3 separate regions of the Homo sapiens genome follow, and regions 2 and 3 are each linked to region 1. The links are contacts of gene promoters, found by promoter capture Hi-C in human tissues and cell types (Jung and others, 2019). All regions are on one chromosome and are shown on one strand. Each heading gives the region's core, a stretch centred on a gene start or on the middle of the fragment in contact. The rest is flanking DNA. Distances are from core to core; before and after follow the strand shown.

Evidence for each region. The method cuts DNA at HindIII sites, captures the fragments that hold promoters and counts their contacts. A contact is called where the count stands out against the background at its distance.
Region 2: a fragment that was not itself captured here is called in contact with the fragment with the promoter of LARP1B in region 1 in 1 of the 25 tissues and cell types used here (H1 embryonic stem cells).
Region 3: a contact is called between a fragment that was not itself captured here and the fragment with the promoter of LARP1B in region 1, in 1 of the 25 tissues and cell types used here (hippocampus).

Annotation. Positions count from the first base shown.
Region 1 is chr4:128,059,832-128,062,668 of GRCh38, forward strand. LARP1B (La ribonucleoprotein 1B) reads left to right here and starts at 1,481. Exons shown (of 20, transcript NM_018078.4): 1 at 1,481-1,570. RefSeq lists enhancers at 846-1,704, 1,705-2,563 and a silencer at 888-2,387. The HindIII fragment of the contact is 21,432 bases long and covers 1-2,837 here.
Region 2 is chr4:127,905,762-127,908,461 of GRCh38, forward strand. No RefSeq gene overlaps it. Among named protein-coding and RNA genes, the nearest start is that of PLK4, 26 kb to the left of the region's middle. The HindIII fragment of the contact is 8,501 bases long and covers 1-2,700 here.
Region 3 is chr4:127,821,687-127,824,386 of GRCh38, forward strand. It overlaps HSPA4L (heat shock protein family A (Hsp70) member 4 like), which reads left to right. Exons shown (of 19, transcript NM_014278.4): 15 at 1,083-1,208; 16 at 1,831-1,938. Among named protein-coding and RNA genes, the nearest start is that of HSPA4L, 41 kb to the left of the region's middle. The HindIII fragment of the contact is 5,115 bases long and covers 1-2,700 here.

The DNA.
Region 1 (2,837 bases), core at 231-2,730:
GGCAGGAGCATCTCTTGAGCCTGGGAGGCAGAGGTTGCAGTTAGCCGAGATCACGCCACTGTACTCCAGCCTGGGCAATAGAGTGAGACTCTGTCTCAAACCACCACCACCACCACCATCACCACCACCAATAAAAAATACAAAGCGCCACTAATAACAGAGCTAGTAAAGATGGATGGGAATATAGGTGGAAGTACAATCCCCTTTTAATTGCAACAAGGTTCGCCAGGTTGCTTAGGGTTGGGCAAACTGGAGATCACTGACACGGAAAACAAGAAAACCCTTATTGTTTATAGCTGTTATGTATGAATAGGTTATTAGCCTTAGGAAAATTATTTGTGCCGAATACGGCTTTTGAGTAAGCAAAAAATATTAACGTCAAGTTGAATGTAATTGAAGCGACTTATTGGGCGTGGGGTGGGGGGTGGGGGTTGAAAGCCCAAACATAAGGCGAGCACAGATAATTTATTTAACAAGGCTATGGGGTTGGTGGGGGGCTCGGAAAAAAATCAGCGGCGGAACCTGCTCTCAGCCACCTTGCACCAGGACACAAACACTGACTCAAAAATGAAACGAGTATCATCTCTAAGTGAATGTGAGTGCCAAGTAGAAAGCTCGTATCCGATTTATTATCAAAACGTCTTTGTACCATTTTAACATCCATTCCAGGAAGAAAAAACCTATTGGGAATATGGTTAATTTGTAATTAAGTGCTATTTACCCAAATTAAAGAAACAGGTAACAAAAAATTTTAAAAGCCGGCGAAATACTATTTAATTTACTCAGGAACGCTTTAGAACTCTTTTAGTTGGTGGGTGGGAATGCGGGCGGGGAAGCGCACTAAGCCGAACGCTGGGGCAAAGGTTTCCTAAACAGTTACCGAGAGGTAACTCCCCCTTCATCTGGGACGTGGCTCAAGATTACAGGTGATCGCGGTGCCCCGAGGCGCCAGGAGGCAACTTTCACCTGGGGGAGGCGCCGGGCGCCAGCGGGCCAAGCGGCCGGGCCGCGGAGCCCACTTCACTTGGGAGCTGCCCCAGGCCGGGGGTCGACACCGCGTCCCCTCCCTTAGCCTAGCTGCGACCCAGCTTTAGGGCCTAAGGGCAAATCGAGCGCTCGGTCCTCCCAGCGCCATGTGCGCGGCCCGCCCAGGCCCTTGGCCGCCGTCGCCGCGGGGGCAGGCCGCGAGCCAGCCGCGAGCCACAGAGGCCTGGTGCGCGCTCCGCCCCTGAGCCTGCAGTCGGGGCGGCCTCAGCCAGTGAGCCGGGAGTCGTCCCCTTCGTCCTCCCTCGCACTCGGAGGGCAGCTGGGGCGGGGCAGACCCTCGGGCCGGGCGGCACCCGGGCGGGCGAATCCGTCAGCTCCCGCGGGAGGCCCGGCGAGAGAAGGACCCGGTGAGTAGCCACGTCACGCTCCTCAGGGAGGCCCCGCCCCGTGCTCTCGGGCCGCCCCTCTTCGCCGTCTCCACGCCTCCGCGGGCAGTTACCAGCTTTGGCTGCTCGCGCCTCCCCAACTCGGGTAAAGCTCCTCGGCCTCGGCGTGCTGCGCCTCCGCGGCTGCCCTGCGCCAGGTGAGGGCTCGCGGCTCCCGGCTGCGGCTCCCGGCGCGTGGTGGCGGGCTCGGGGCGTGCGTCGCGGAGAGGACGGGGCCGGCGGGCGGTTGGCGCTCCGTTCGGTGCGGGGAGGGGCGTCACGCCGGGCGCTGCGCGGCCTCGGCGGGCGGCGGCAGCGGCGGCCACGGCCGCCGGGCTCTCGGGTTGTCTGTCCCCAGTTGGAGCCGGCCGGTGTCCCGGCGGAGAGACGGGCAGTCGGGTTCCCTGGCCTCGGGGCCACCCCGGCTGGGGCGGCTGGGGCAGAGGGACGATGTCTACTCGCGCCCCGATGCCCGCCGCCCATTCTCGGGAGGATCCGCCCGCGGTGACTGCTGAGAGGGAGTCGCTGTTGGCCGCGGCGAACCGGCCGGCCGAGCAGCCGCCCCCGCCCGAATGTGAGGGCAAAGAGGCGGCGAGGGAGGAGAGGGCCGCGGCCGCCACTAGCGCTGGGGCGCGGGGAGAGCCGTCGCCGGCGCTGGTGCTGGGACGCAGCGTGCCCCAGGCGGCTGTCCCCGTGAGGCCCCTGGCGCTGCACCTGGCGCACAAGGCGCGTGGGCCCGGGGGCCCTTTCGGCGGGGAGCCGCCACCGCCACCGCCGCCGCCGTCGCCGTTGCCGCCGTTGCTGCGGGATCCGCCGGCCGAGGACGCCCGGGAAGAGGTGGCAGCTGGCCCTGCGGAAAAGCGGCAGCCGCCGCTGCTGCCGCCTAAGGGAAATCCCTGGACCAAAAAGCCTCCCCAGCACCTGTCCCCAGACACGACAGGTCCGCCACCGCCCCCGCTGGAAACCCTGGAGGCAGGTCTGTGGTTGCTCTGCGTTGGGCACTGGCAGGGTGCGGGCAGGGGCGACTTGCGGGACTTGCCGGCGCGTGGCGGCGGTAGCGGGCACCAGGCCCGGGTAACGGCAGGCCTCCCCTCCCTGTCAGTCGGAGGTAATTTGTTCCAAGGTGTCATTCACTCTGCCTATTTACAGACATGGGCATCTGGGAAGGGAGCGGCAGGAAGAGGTGGGACCTCAGGTTCTCCTTGCCTGATGGGGGCACGGAGGTGGTAGCTTGGCGGCGCATCCCTGCTGGCGCGGTTGCGATTGTGTTTTGTCCCCAGTGTTAGTGACTTGGGAAAGTAGCTAACTTTAGATACTGCAGTGCTTCGTATGGGAAAGTTTTGGTAGACTTTTTTTTTTTTTTTTTTACATAAAAGGATTGAAGCAAGTCAGAGCAAGGGGATTTATTCGTAAGTGGAAGCGCGA
Region 2 (2,700 bases), core at 71-2,570, 150 kb before region 1:
ACCTAATGTGTCCTGCTGGTTTTTATAATCAGAAATATTAGAGCTGTTTCTTTTAAGTAGACAAGTAGACAATGTTATGATTATTCAACATTGTTTTGGAGGTTTTTGCCTCAGACAATAAGGAAGAAAAATAATACTTATATTTGCAACATAAATTGCAGAACTGATATTAAACTACCACCATACCCCTCTCCCAGAGAAAACCAGTAACAGAAAAAAGGGGATTGAAGGAAATTTTCTGTTGTCACACAGTAGAAAAATGGACAAGACATATGAATTGATAGTTCACAAAGGAAGGAAGTCCATATGGTCAATAAAAAGGAAATATGCTCAACCTCATAAAAGTTGGGGAAATGCAAAGTTAAAGCAAGATAATAATTTTCCTTTATCAAAGAATGGGTTTAAGATTAAGTAATAGCCCAGTGCAGTGGCTCATGCCTGTAATCCCAGCACTTTGGGAGGCCAAGGCAGGCAGGTCCCCTGAGGTCAGGAGTTCAATACCAGCCTGGCCAACATGGTGAAGCAGTGTCTCTACTAAAAATACAAAAATTAGCGAGGTTAGGTGGTGCACGCCTCTAATCCCAGCCACTTGGGAGACTGAGGCACGAGAATCTCTAGAACCCGGGAGGTGGAGGTTGCAGTGAACTGAGATAGCGCCACTGCACTCCAGCCTGGGTGACAGAGCAAGGCTCTGTCTTTAAAAAAAAAAAAAAAATTGAAATAATAATGCTCACAATATGTATAAGACATTCTCAGGTGTTGATTAGGGTGTAAATGATAACTGTGAAAGTAATATGGCAGTATCTATAAGAATTACCACATTGATAATCCAACTTTGGGGAAAGGAAGGATGTAAGCCCTTAGAGAAAATATGATCAGTAATAACAATTTCCCTTTAAAAATTGAAATAAAATGCCAGGCACAGTGGCTCATGCCTGTAATCCTAACACTTTGGGAGGCCAAGGCGGGTGAATCACTTGAGGTCAGGAGTTCAAGACCAGCCTGGCAAACATGGTGAAACCCCATCTCTACTAAAAATACAAAAATTAGCTGGGCATGGTGGCACACGCCTGTAATCCCAGCTACTCGGGAGGCTGAGGCAGGAGAATTGCTTGAACCTGGGAGACAGAGGTTGCAGTGAGCCAAGATCATGCCACTGCACTCCAGCCTGGGCAACAGAGCAAGACTCTGTCTCAAAAATAAATAAAATAAAAATGGAAATAAAGTAATCCCGAGCTAAATTTTATTTTATTTTATTATTTTTTTTAGACGGAGTCGCCTTCTGTCACCCAGGCTGGAGTGCAGTGGCATGATCTCGGCTCACTGCAACCTCTGCCTCTCAGGTTCAAGCGATTCATCTGCCTCAGCCTCCCAAATAGCTGGAATTGTAGACATGTGCCACCATGCCCAGCTAATTTTTGTATTTTTAGTAGAGATGGGGTTTCAACATGTTGGCCAGGCTGGTCCCGAACTCCTGACCTCAAGTGATCCACCTGTCTCGGCCTCCGAGAGTGCTGGGATTACAGGCGTGAGCCACCGCACCTGGCCTGAGCTAAATTTTAAAGGCCAATGACTCAAAACATACATTTCTGCTTTGACAGATGTTAACTAGTATACTTTTTATTATCTCTTCGTCTTTATGAGTGAGTCTATTTTTTAAGTATTTTTCTTATACATAACATATAGCTAAATTTTATTTTGATTACAATTTAATAACTTCTAATTTTTACATATATTGTTATTTCTGGCTGTCTTATTGTCATTACAGTTCTATTTGGATTTATGTCTAGCAATTAATTTTGTGCTTTCTAGCATGTACTATATTTTTGCTTTGCTTTTCTTTTTTTCCTGTTACTTCTTTCAAGCTGAGTTTCCTTTAATCCCCTTTTTTCTCTCTACTCGTTTTCTCTGGGGGAGGGGTATGGTGGTAGTTTAATATTCAATGTTTATATTACTGTGACTATGAAAATATTCATAGCTCCGCCAGGCGCAGTGGCTCACACCTGTAATCCCAGCACTTTGGGAGGCCAAGGGAGGCGGATCACCTGAGGTCGGGAGTTCGAGATCAGCATGACCAACATGAAGAAACCTCATCTCTACTAAAAATACAAAATTAGCCAGGCATGGTGGCACATGCCTGTAATCCTAGCTACTCTGGAGGCTGAGGCAGGAGAAACTCCAGGAAGCAGAGGTTGCGGTGAGCCGAGATCGCACCATAGCATTCCAGCCTGAGCAACAAAAGCGAAACTCCATCTCAAAAAAAAAAAAAGAAAGAAAAAGAAAAAAAGAAAATACTCACAGCTGAACTATGTACTATGCTAGAATTATATTTCTTGAACAATTTTTTTTCTGGAATTCTTTTGTTTTCTCTGATATGTCAGGTAATCTGTCTGTGCTTTTTTGTTGATCCATTTATCCCCTCTTTTGGAGACATCTCTCTGCTTTCCTTTTTCTACCTGGACTGGTTCCTTTGTAGTTTTCCAGTGTAGGAATGTACAGCAGTTTGTTTATATGTTATACTGTTGATGGACATTTGAGTTGTTTCCAGATTTTGGCTGTAAATATATACTTTATGAACATCTTCTGGTGCAGCTACATACAAGTTTCTCTAGGATTTTACTGCAATGAATTTAGTAATCTTACGATTTGTGTATGTCAAACTTTAGTAGATAACGCCTAATTTTTTTACACTTCCATTTG
Region 3 (2,700 bases), core at 16-2,515, 240 kb before region 1:
ATCACAACCACTATACCATATCCACCCCCGCAAGGCTTTTATTCATTACCAGTTATGTGTCAAACATGGAACTAAATATTTTACATGAATTATCTCAACCTTATTAGCAGCCCTATGAGTTAGATGGAATTATGCTCTCTGTTTAGGATAAGAAAACTTATGTTTAGATGATTTTCCTGCTATCTCAAGATAGTAAATAGGGAACCTAGGATTTTAATCTGAGTATGTAGAATGACATAGGCTATGTTTTCTTTTGTTTTTTAACAGCTTTATTGAGATAAATTTACATATCATAATTAACCCATTTAAAGTATCCAGTGGTTTTCGGTATACTACGTTAATTTTTTTACATGAAATTTGCTATTATAACCATTTTTAAGTGTATAATTCAATGGCTTTAATTACATTCACCATACTGTGCATCCATCACCACTGTCTATTTTCAAAACAATTCCATCACCCCAAACGTTAACTCTATAATAACTTATTTTCCTCCCTTCTCCCAGTTCCCTACTTTCTGTCTTTGCGAACTGCCTAGTTATCAATAGATAAGAATCATGTTAAGTGGGATTATACAATGCTTGTCCTTTTGTGTCTGGCTTATTTTACTTGGCATAATGACTTCAAGATTCCTTGTTTCAGCACGTATCATAACTTCATTTCTTCTTAAAATGAAGTAAAATACTACATTGTGTTTATATACTTTTTTTATTTGTTCATCTTTTAGTGCACATTTGGGTTGTTTCTACTTTTTGGCTATTGTGAATAATGCTGCAGTGAACACTGACATACAAATATCTGTTCAAGTCTCTGCTTTCAATTTTTTGTGGGTGTATCTAGGAGTGAAATTGAAATTCTGTGCTTAGCATTTTGAGGGACAGCCAAAACGTTTTCCATGGTGGCTGCAGCATTTTACATTCCTCTCAGCAATGTACAAGGGTTTCACTTTCTCCACATCCTCATGAATACTTATTTTTTGTATTGTAATCATCCTAGTGAGTGTGAAGTGGTATCTTGTGGTTTTGATTTCTATTTCCCTAATGCATATTCTTATGGCAACTAATCTGAAGCTTTTTGAATAGGGGAAGATGATCATGCAAGATAAGTTAGAGAAAGAAAGAAATGATGCTAAGAATGCCGTTGAAGAATATGTATATGATTTTAGAGACAGGCTGGGCACTGTCTATGAAAAATTCATCACTCCAGAAGTAAGTCTAAATTCTGTTAATTTTTTGTGAGGACTATTTAAAGGTTTACTCGAGAATGCTAGTACAAATTACATAAATAAATGTACCAAATGTTGTTATTGTTGCCAATCTTGGGCCCATATGGGGAAGGTTCTTATTTTTACAAGTTGCAGAAGTATGGTGAAAAACATATTTTTGAATAAGAAGTTAGAAAATTTTGAAATTTAATATTTTATACTTGAAAAACATTCTGTCCTTCCATGATTTTTAATTTTTTTTTTATTTATTTATTTGAGACAGCATCTAGCTCTGTCGCCCAGGCTGGAGTGCAGTGGCACGATTTCAGCTCACTGCAACTTCTACTTCCCGGGCTCAAGCAGTCCTCTCACCTCACCCTCATAAGTAGATGGGAATACAGGCACATGCCATCATGCCTGGCTAATTTTTTAATTTGTTGTAGAAATATGATTTTGCCATATTGCCCAGGCTGGTCTCTTAGTTCTGGGCTCAAGCGATCCTCCCACCTTGGCCTTTCAAAGTGTTGGGATTACAGGCATGAGGCACTGCACTGCACTGAGCCCAATGATGACTTTTATTTCTAAGGAAAGTATTTTTAATTAGTGTCTCTCAAATATATTACTAGGACTTGAGTAAACTGTCTGCAGTATTGGAAGACACAGAAAATTGGCTTTATGAAGACGGAGAGGACCAACCTAAACAAGTTTATGTGGATAAGCTTCAAGAACTAAAGGTACATTTTTTTAAAGTCCATGTTAGTATAAACCAGTAACTTTTTCTAAAAATTAGGGTGTAAGAGCACAGTTTATGTTCTATTAATTTTTAATTTTTTAATTGAGAGGAAAATTGTATATATTTGTGGTGTACGACATGTTTTGATTATGCACACATTGTGGAATGGCTAAGTCAAACTATTTAACAAATGCATTACCTCACATACATTTCTTTCTTTGGGGGGGAGAACACTTAAAATCTACTCTCTCAACCAATTTTCAAATATACAGTATATTGTTAAGTATATATGGTAACTGTGGTTACCATGATGTACAATAGATCTCTTGGACTTACTCCTCTTGTCTAATTCAAATGTTGTGTCCTTTGACCAGTAGCTCTCCATCATACCATCCCCTGATAACCACCAATTCTACTATCTGATTCTAAGAGCTTACCTTTTTTAGATTCAACCTTTGAGATCATGCAGTATTTGTCTTTTTGTGCCTGGCTTATTTCACTTAGCATAATGTCCTCCAGGTTCATCTAAGTTGTCTCAAATGACAGGATTTACTTCTTTTTAAGGCTGAATAGTATTCCGTTGTATATGCATACCACGTTTTCTTTATCCATCATTTCACTGATGGACACTTAGATTGAGTCTCTATTTTGGCTATTGTGAATAATGCTGCAGTGAACATGGAGTTTAGATATCTCTTTGGCATAGTGATTTTATTTTCTTTGGATAGATACACAGTAGTGAGATTGCTGGATCTGTATGTTT